2 separate regions of the Homo sapiens genome follow, and region 1 is linked to region 2. The links are contacts of gene promoters, found by promoter capture Hi-C in human tissues and cell types (Jung and others, 2019). All regions are on one chromosome and are shown on one strand. The core of a region is centred on a gene start or on the middle of the fragment in contact, and the rest is flanking DNA. Distances in the headings are between cores, read along the strand shown. Region 1 overlaps LINC01789 (long intergenic non-protein coding RNA 1789). Region 2 holds the start of ST6GAL2 (ST6 beta-galactoside alpha-2,6-sialyltransferase 2).

Region 1 (5,407 bases), core at 148-2,647, 440 kb after region 2:
ACTCCAGAGCTTTATCTGGCAAAAGGATTTACTGGGACTAGACCCAAAGAAAACAGAAAAAGAAAAAGGGAAAATGGCTCTGGAAGGCAAGATGCCAGCTTATTCGCTCTTGAGATTTTGCAACTTCCCACTACTCTTTCCATAACCTCAGTCCTTTACCCTAGGGTGTCTTTGCATTTCTTATGAGTAGAGCTGGTCCCCCCAGCACTAGGCCATGGAAACTCCCTTTAACTGTGCTTTCCTTACATGCCAAACATTTGGAACTGAGGCAACCCTCATGACAGGCAGAAGCAGTCAACTTAGTGCTGAGTCCAGCAAGATGATCAGCTTTGACCAAGACCCCTACAGAAATTGGACATCCCAGGGTTATGTATAGCATTATATGAGGCTACGTTTCCACCTTATTTGTCTCTAGTGTACTTCAAACATTCTTTGTTTTGTGTCCTGTCTCATGAATCATTCCCTCTTCCTTTATGCCAATTTTTACTCCATGTATGTGAGCTGCTCTCTCAGACCTGCTTCTGCTTTCCAGTGTTTTTGATTGCTTGTCATGGGCAGTGTTGAAAAGAGAGCAGGTGGTGGAGGTGAAGTGTTGTAGTGGAAGTGGAAGCTTCTTGCAATTTTTCTGAGAAAGCCTAGGCTTTCTATTGCATGTGGATGAGCTGAGAACTCTCTACCACCTTTTTCTTCCTTTTTGTCTTTGGGCTCCAGCGAATAACCCACTGCAATCTCCACTTCTGCACCTGAGCTATTACTTCTAGCTGGTTGTTCCCTGCTCCCCACACACCACTATCAACTGTCATACAGGCTGAAGTATGCAAAGGACCATTTGAGGTTTCCTAAAGTATTTAGTTAACAGTTCATTAGCAAAAGAGAAAGGAGGTAACAACAACATGTGTGCTGAAATTTCAACTGGTATCATCTCATAATCAAATTAGTCTTAATGGATGTAGCCAGCTGGGCCTTGATTTCATTTTCAGAGAAGTACTTTAATATTTTCCTCCACAATTTCTAGATAAATAGATTTTTACCACAATAGATGGATAACACGCATTGTTCTTCCCCATTCCAAAATGTTATATTTTAATACTTACTTGAAAACTATTTCTATAAATAGCTCAATATATTTCTAATCATTTACATAGTAATTGTATTCTCAGAAATCTTGCTTGTTGGCCAGACAAGGAACAAAAAGCCTGTGAATATTACTATGAATATTCCTCAAAGTATAGATTTGTCTATACTCCTTATTAATATCTGATGAGTTTGAAGTTGTATATTTCCTCTCTAAGCCAGTTGTTTAAAAGAATTATACATGTTTAAAAAAATCCAAGTGATTGGAATTTGAAAGTTTAAGCATTTGTTATAAATTTCCAGTTTTCTCACATTTTAATTAAATAATAAAGCCTATAACTTTATGTCTTGAGCAACTTATTGGAATTATCTTTCTAGTCTGGTACATGAATTACATGTGTAAATATCCTATAAATTGTTGAAATGGATGTTTATTCATGATTCTAGGACACAAATGTGAAAATATTTCCACTAAATATTTGATATTAATGGTAGAATTGACTCTTCTATGTCCTTGTTTATCGTCTTCTTGAGATATTAGGTTAAGAGTAATATTATACAGATTCTCACTTCTAATACGTCAGTCAATAAATCATTGCATTTGCAGCTTATATTTATTTAAATCTGACATTTTCTAATTATTGCCTCAATTTTTTTAATTGGTAGGTATTTTCCACAGTTTTAGGCTTACAAAAAAAAAGTCCAATGGAAAGTACAAAGAGTTATCATATACACCTGTCCCCAAATTTCCCCTATTCTTTGCATCTTTCAAATAGTTCATTTGTTTTGTGGACATTACACCTTTTGGAATTGTCCCACAATTCTTGGATATTATTTTCTTTTTCATTCTTTTTTAAAATTTTTGCATTTCAGTTTTGGAAGCTTTAATTAACATTTCTTCAAGCTCACTAATTTTTTTCTTTGGCTGAGTCCAGTCTACTGATGAGCCTATAAAAGGAATTCTTTATTTCTGTACAGTGTTTTTGATTTCTAGCATTTCCTTTTAATTCTCAAAGTTTTTATCTCTCCGCTTACATTACTCCTCTGTTCTTGCATGTTGTCCTCTTTTTGCATTAGAGCCTTTAGTGTATTAATCATAGTTGTTTTAAAGTCTGGGTCTGATTATTCCAATACCTGTGACACATGTACAGCTGATTCCAGTGATTGTCCTGCTCTCCAGACTGTTATTTTTTGGTCTTTCAGTGTGCCTTATAATTAGTTGTTTCTTAAAGCCAGACATGATGCACTGGGTAAAAGGAATAGAGATACATAAGACCTCAGTGTATTGTTTTATGTTTTTCTGCCTTGGAGCTAGGGCTGTGTGCAATGTTTACTATAGCTGTAGATTTCAGAAGCTAAAATTTATCCTGATGTTCTTGCTTTTGTCCCTTTTGCTCTTGTTGGAATTTTTTGGAACTTTTTTTTTTTTTTTTGAGACAGAGTCTCGCTCTGTTGCCCAGGCTGGCTGGAGTGCAATGGTGCCATCTCGGCTCACTGCAAGCTCTGCCTCCGGGGTTGACACCATTCTGCTGCCTCAGCCTCTGGAGTAGCTGGGACTACAGGCGCCTGCCACCAAGCCCAGCTAATTTTTTGTTTTTTTTTTTTAGTAGAGACAGGGTTTCACCGTGGTAGCCAGGATGGTCTTGATCTCCTGACCTCGTGATCCGCCCAACTCGGCCTCCCAAAGTGTTGGGATTACAGGCGTGAGCCACCGCACCCGGCCTGGAACTTCTTAAATAAGTTCTAAGACATGCAGTTCTTTGGTTGTATTATTCTGATATTGTTCAGGAGCCTTACTAATATGATAGTAAGGTGTTGGGGCAGGGAAAGTCTTCTATATTTTTATGATTAGGTCTCAGTCTTTCAGTGAGCTTATCACCGGGTCTATGACCTTCACAAAGCTTATCAGGTTTGCCTCCCCTCTCGCCCTTCCCTAATGTATGACAGAAAAACCAGACAGAACTGGAGTTGGGGATTTCCCTTCTGCCATGTCGATTAGGCTTTTTGAAACTCCAGTCAGTTATAGTCTGCTAAAATAGCTTCTCTTGATGATGGGCCTCATTGAGAACAAAATACTCTGAGTGTATTTGAAATTTATTGCTTTTCTACTCTTCTTGCTGAAAGCATGAGAGAAGTTATTTTCATTGTGAGAACCTAGTAAAGGCTCCTGGAGGTAAAAACTCACAAAAGCTGCCCCTCCACCAAGTCTGCCCTCCCTGAAATTTTTAACTCTCAAACTTGTCAACACCAAGCCTCTAAGTTTTCCTAGCCTCATGAACCCCAATACCAGTTCCTACAAAGGTTTCTGATCCCAGGCTTCTGCTCTGGTAAGTTGTAATTCTCTGCATCTTCCTGTCTGTCTGCCAGTGTGAGGGGCACTGTTTCGCCTGGTGACTTCAATTATCTGATGGATCTAAAGATGGTTATTTTCAGTTCCTTCATCTTTTGTCTTGCTGTGAAGATGGAAGTGATGACTTCCAAGCTTCTTCTTTCCCATACTGAAAACAGAAAGTCCTCCTACAATTTTATTTTTGTTGCAAAGTTAATTCATGTCCATTTTGTTAAAAACCAAACCTATCTCCAAAACATTTAAAAATATCTGAAATTTCATATCCATTTTAGTAAGAGCCTGTGTTTTGCATGCATAAATAGAAGCTATTCTGATGGTGTTTCAGCAACAAAAATTGTCTATTTTTTTAACTTTTATTTTACAGTCAGGGGTACATGTGCAGGTTTGTTGCAAATGTACATTGTGTGATGCTGAGGTTTGGAGTACAAATATATCCATGACCCAGGTAATGAACATAGTGCCCATAGGTCATTTTCTACCCCTTGCCCTTCCCCCATCTGTTGGTCTTCGGTGTCTGTCATTCCCACCTTTATGTCCATGTGTACTCAATGTTTAGCTCACACTTATCAGTGAGACCATATGGTATTTTCTACCCCTTGCTCTTCCCCCATCTGGTGGTCTCCAGTGTCTATCATTCCCACCTTTATGTCCATGTGTACTCAATGTTTAGCTCACACTTATAAGTGAGAACATATGGTATTTGGTGTTCTGTGTCTTTGTTAGTTCACTTAGGATAATGGACTCCAGCTGCATCCATATTGCTGCAAAAGACATAATTTTATGCTTTTTTATGGCTGCATAGTATTCCATGGAGTATATGTACCATATTTTCTTTATCCAATCCATTGTTTATGGCATCTGAGTTGATTCCTTGTCTTTGCTATTGTGAATAGTGTTGTGATGAACATATGAGTGCATGTGTCTTTTTGGTAGAATTATTTGTTTTCATTTGGATATATACCCAGTAATAGAATTGCTGGGTCAAATGGTAGACTAACTCTTAGTTCTTTGAGAAATTTCCAAACTAGTTTCCACAGTGGCTGAACTAATTGACATTCCAACTAAAAGTGTATAAGTGTTTACAATATCCAGAAAAAGAATAAAATACTTAGAACACAGCTAACTAATAAAGTGAAAAATCTCTACAAGGAGAACTACAAAACACTGCTGAAAGAAATCAGAAGTAACACAGATAAATGGGAAAACATTCCATGCTCATGGATTGAAAGAATCAGTATTGTTAAAATGGCCATGATACCCAAAGCAATTTATAGAGTAAATGCTATTCCTGTCAAAGGGCTAACATCGTTTTTTACAGAATTAGAAAAAAAGTTCTAAAATTCATATGGAACCAAAAAAAAAGAGACTTAATAGCCAAAGCAATCCTCAGCAAAAAGAACAAATCTGGAGGCATCACATTACCTGACTTCAAACTATACTATAAGGCTACAGCAACCAAAACAGCATAGTACTGATACAAAAACAGACACATAGACCAATGGAACAGGATGGAGAACCCAGAAATAAAGCCACACTCCTACAACCACTCAATCTTTGACAAAGTTGACAAAAATAAGCAATGAGAAAAAACTTCCTATTCAATAAATGATGCTGGGATAACTGGCTAGCCACATGCAGAGATTGAAACTGAACCCCTACCTATAACCATATATAAAGATTAACTCAACCTAGATTAAAGACTTGAATATAAGACCTTAAACTATACAATCCTAGAAGAAAACCTAGGAAATACTTCTCTTAATATCAGCCATGGCAAAGGATTTATGGCGAGGCCCTCAAAGGTAATTCCAGCAAACACAAAAATTGACAAGTGGGTTCTAATCAATCTAAACATCTTCTGCACAGGAAAAGAAACTATCAAGGGAGTAAACAGAAAACCTACAGAATGGAAGAAAATATTTGCAAACTATGCATCCGTCAAAGGTTTAATATCCCAAATCTACGAGGAATTTAAATCAACAA
Region 2 (4,845 bases), core at 1,268-3,767:
TACTATCTGATTCCCTTAGACATTTATGCATGCTGAATTAAGTACTTAATTTAATTTAAGCAATTAAATTTTAAGATCATATTACAGAAAATCCAGGAAAAGAAAAAACTCAATCAATCAGGAATAACACAATACATTTAAAGAGCAAATGCATTAACAAAGACTGTCCTTATTATCATGCATAAGATATTTTTATTCAAAGTCTCACCCATGAGGTAGCAATCTGCAAACTAATTAAGAGCTTCCCAGAGGACAAATATCTCCAAGTTTTTGGAAAGGAACCTATCATTTATTTACCTAAGAAGGAGTGGCAGAAGCCTAGAAATCAGTTTGTCTTTCAGAAAAGATTTAATCATTTGAGAAATGCTTGGATAAATTCTAAACCTGGAGGGTAAAATTTCAGTCAGTATCAGTATAAGCAATAGACCAGAGCCTCACACACTGAAATCATCTCAGAAAGAAGAGAAACTCGGGGGTGGGGGGGTGGAACCTCCAGAAACAAGCACGTACAGGAATTTTTTCAGCAGTCCCTTCGCTATTTAATCTTTGCTGGCTGGATTGGCCACAACTCCCTAGACTCAACTTATGTCTTCACCCCACAGAGTAAACCTTTTCCCTCTTAATTATCCTCATCAGAAACTCAACACAGATAACTGCCCTCTTCTGCATAATAAATCATTCACATATTTTCAAATGTTAAATTGTCTCAACTTTGAATCCTCTAGTCTAAAAATCCTGAATTTTGTATCCTTGCTTCCTAGATCCTGTGCACCACATAGCAAACTCACCAAATGTTGGTCCTTGCTCTGACCTCACTCTTTCCAGGAGTATCCATCCAAAGCCTCTCTAAACTGTGGAGCTCAGTACTCCATATAAAGCAGTGACTCCTATCACAATCTCTACAAGACATTTAACTCAAAACTCCAGAAGCTTTCACAGCACCAAGCAAAAATGTAAGATGCTACCATTTGTATCTATTGCGGCAAAAATTGGATAGAGTGCCTTTTTAACTTTGCAGTAAAATTCAAGGCACTTCACCTATTATTTTAGACTTTCATCAGTTTTGAGCACAATATCCATTCACCTTTGCCAACAGTTTCTTTTAATGCATTAGTACAAAATTCCTCAAGTGGTATATAAAAATTTTGGTTGTCAGTTCCAGAAAAATAATGGGGGAAGGAGAGTGGGTAAAAACAGGTTCAAGGCCACACATCAGTTTTCCTTTTAAAAAAAGTTTTAACCCTAAATTTGCAGCGCATATATATATATATATATATATATATATACATACACACACACACATATATACATATGTGTATGTATATACATATACATCATATATATATAGCACTTCACTTTATTGGAATTCTTCCTTGGTCATAAATTATATTTCAAGTTGGCAAAAAATGTTGATCAGAATTTCAAAAAAGGGAAGCATCAAAGTAACCAGCATGGGGTTTTTCAAGTGTGCAGAAAGTTCTCTAAATACAAAATGTGCTTCCAGCCCACCAAAGACCCCCCTCACCCAAGCAGGCAGTCCTCGGCGAGGAGGGTCAGCATGCCCCTTTATGGTCAGAACGGCAGTGGTGCAAAAGACAATGATTTCAACCAAATATGGTTTGCCTCTCGCCAAATTTTTCGCATGTCCAATAAAAATAAGTTCACAAAAATCCAGCCAAGCATTACTTTCCCCCCAAAAGTGCTTCTCAGATTACAAAACAGCTTTGAAAGTTCAGCCTGACAAAACAAATATGGTACTAGGAGGAGAGACCTGGAAGGCAATCACAAAAAGTCTCATTTAAATTCCTGGAAAGCACAGCTTCTCCAAACACAGCTATTCAGCTCTTTGGAAGGCAGCACTTGCGGGAGCCATTGAGTTTAACTTCACTCAGTCCCCCAACACAGAACCGGCAAATCCGAATGAGATGGACGTCACACTCCCTACTCAAAAGAATGCATCAAATATCCACTCCGTAACACCGCGGAAAGTAAACCCAAAAGCGGAGTTTGCCGCCTGCCAACTACATAAGAATTAACACTCGGGTATTTAGGATTCTAAAGATCCCTACTACCCCAAACATTATAGCCACAGAGAACCAGAAATGAACAGAACACACTTTAACCTTTAAGAAGTGCAGTTTTGTACGGGGGTTGGCTGAAGAAAGACAAAAATCTTCACTCCCTTCCAGAGCCAAAAGAGCCAAAATAAAAGATCACCTTTACTGAGCCACAGGGGCACAACTGTATCCGCCCGTCCCCAAAGCGCAAGCCGTCCTCCCGTTCGCTTCTCCAGAATTTCCTGCTTTTCCCCAAACCACCTTCAACATTCCCCACACACGGGTCTCGCTCCTAAACACGGAGTGTAACTCCGCGCACAGCAGCGCGGAGGCTGCAGCGCCACCAAGAAAGGCGTCGCCAACCCTTACCCAGTGCCCTCCCTTACCAGCCTTCTTCCCACGCCGCGCCTCGAAGCGCACGACACCGTGGTGCTCGGTGCTCCCCCTGGCAGCGCGGCACTGGAGTCCAAGGCGTGCGTGTCACATTTTATTCCCCGGCAGCCGCTCGGGTGCGCGCGCTACGCGCTCCCACACTCACGCTGGCGCCCGCTAGAGCTGGGACCCTGGCCGGGGTCCCCGACTCACGCCGCGGAACTTGGGGGCTGCAGAAGGCGAGTGCGCGGCGGGAGTCGTCCTGCCGCAGGCTCGAGTCCTCCTCCTGCCACCGTGGGGTCTCGGAGCTGCCCCGCGCTCCCGTCCCAGGCGGCCTGCGGGATCACCTCTCCGGGGCCAGCGCTGCTCCGCGCCGGCGGCAGCTGCAAGCGCGGGCGGCGGGGCACAGCGGGTGGCTCGGCCTCAAAGCCGGCGGGAGGCTACGCTCAGCCCCGCGCTGCACGCCTCATTGTTTCGGGCAGCGCGGCGGCGGCTCCCGCGGCCAGAGGAACCGCGGCCCCGAGCCCCGGGGAGAGGCGGCGGTTCCCGGCCCACGCACCGAGGCTGCGCCGCGCCCCGCCCCCGAGCTCCGCTCGCCCCAGAGCCCCCTCCCTCTCCGCGATCCCTTTCATCCTTCCCGCTCCAGGCTCACCTAGCTGGCGGGAGCCGGGCACTGGGAAGTTGGGCTGCCCCCTCCCCGCGCCCCCGGCCCGGCAGCTCGGCCCGCCGGCGAGCGCAGGCGGGGCGCTCCCTGGCTGCGCGCGGATTTCTGCTTGTCGCGGAGAGTGACTGCAGACTTGGGCTGCGTGGGGCGGTGCGGGGCAGCACGGCTGCCTAAAAAGGCGTGTTTCTCCCCGGCCGCCGCCTCCATCCAGCCCTAGTTCTTCCGAAGGTTACCTGCACAGTACCCGCCTGGCACCGCGCCTGGACACCTCCGGGGCACTCGGGTCCCGGGCGGCGGCAGGAATGCAGGAATGCGCACAGGCTGTGGGCGGCCAGGAGGGAGTCCCGGCGCCTGCCCCGGCGGAAGTGAGTCTTTGTGTACCCTGTCCAACACCTCCCCCCGCCAGCGCGGAAGGCCGGGCTACCTGCGCGCCTGGCAGCGCCTGGCAGCCGGCTGGGTGGGGCGCAGGGGAGCGCAGCATCCTCCCCGGCTCGCTAGCTCCCTTTGTTCATCTCGCTCAACCAGGCTCCGCACTGCCGCCTGGCCCTCGCTCCCAGAGCTTCTCTAAGGATATGGGATGGACTTGGGAGCGGGCCACCTTTCATTTGGGAAGGGTAGCTCGCCAAGTCCGGTGACGGTGCTCCCTGGAGACCCCCACCTGCCCGCCCCTCCACACTGCCGGTCCCCAACCCCAAGAGGGACGGAAAGTTCTTGGGGTAGAAGCCGGCGGGACAAGTGGTTGAAGCAGCCTCCGGAGCCAGTGGGCGGCTGCGAGCTGGGCAGCTGGAGCCTGCGGGCGGGGCCGCGGGGAGGTGCCCATCGAGTGTCGGTCTGGTCGCGTGCGGAATGTCCACTTGTCACCGCGGCCCTTGCGTTTTCTCGAGACGGCGGCAGCTGGTCCTAGGACCCCAAACCGCGCCGCCCTTTGTTTGCTGGTAAATACTCTCCTGTGAACTTCAGCGTGTCTCTCCGCGCGCACTCCTGGCATTGGGTGCCCCACCCCGCTGGTTCTCTCGCGGACCCAAAGAGCTGTTCAGGTGTAGGGGAATCCCAGGTAGATGGATAATATTGCTAAGGTTGGGCCCATCTCAGGGGGACTGGTTAGTCACCCCTCACCCCACCCCACACCCTCAGTCGCTAGAAGGACACACGTTTTGGAGACAGAGATCTGCCATTAAATGTATTATTTAAAAATCCGCAAATACTTTTATTCAAGTAATTTAGACTTTTTTTTTAGGGGGGAAAAAGCAATTAACTGGCTACCCAATTCATTCAGCATTCATTAGTGCCTACCTTAGCCTGGAACTCTGAGCTAGACAGTGGGCGCCCAGAACTCCCTCAAAGAGTTTACAGAAATGTAAAACAGCACGGGAATTAAACTAAAATCGAGTGGGTATAATGCACTGTGTTCAAACAAAAGTGTGGGCCGAAAACGCTTACTCAGTATTTCCCCAATTGTATTAATTATGTCTGACACATGGAATTCTGCGGAACTGCCTGAATGAACAATGTGTTACACAGATATTTTTTAAAAAAAGAAAAATTATGGCCGGGCGCGGTGGCTCACGCCTGTAATCCCAGCACTTTGGGAGGCCGAGGCGGGTGGATCATGAGGTCAGGAGATCGAGACCATCCTGGCTAACAAGGTGAAACCCCGTCTCTACTAAAAATACAAAAAATTAGCCGGGCGCGGTGGCAGGCGCCTGTAGTCCCAGCTACTCGGGAGGCTGAGGCAGGAGAATGGCGTGAACC

The links. The method cuts DNA at HindIII sites, captures the fragments that hold promoters and counts their contacts. A contact is called where the count stands out against the background at its distance.
Region 1: a fragment that was not itself captured here is called in contact with the fragment with the promoter of ST6GAL2 in region 2 in 1 of the 25 tissues and cell types used here (dorsolateral prefrontal cortex).

The regions. Positions count from the first base shown.
Region 1 is chr2:107,326,540-107,331,946 of GRCh38, forward strand. The region is part of intron 1 of LINC01789 (long intergenic non-protein coding RNA 1789); the gene reads right to left. Among named protein-coding and RNA genes, the nearest start is that of LINC01789, 36 kb to the right of the region's middle. The HindIII fragment of the contact is 3,735 bases long and covers 1-3,265 here.
Region 2 is chr2:106,883,650-106,888,494 of GRCh38, forward strand. ST6GAL2 (ST6 beta-galactoside alpha-2,6-sialyltransferase 2) reads right to left here and starts at 2,518. Exons shown (of 6, transcript NM_001142351.2): 1 at 2,444-2,518. It overlaps LOC124907864 (a long non-coding RNA gene), which reads left to right and starts at 2,884. Exons shown (of 2, transcript XR_007087169.1): 1 at 2,884-3,458. The HindIII fragment of the contact is 7,907 bases long and covers 454-4,845 here.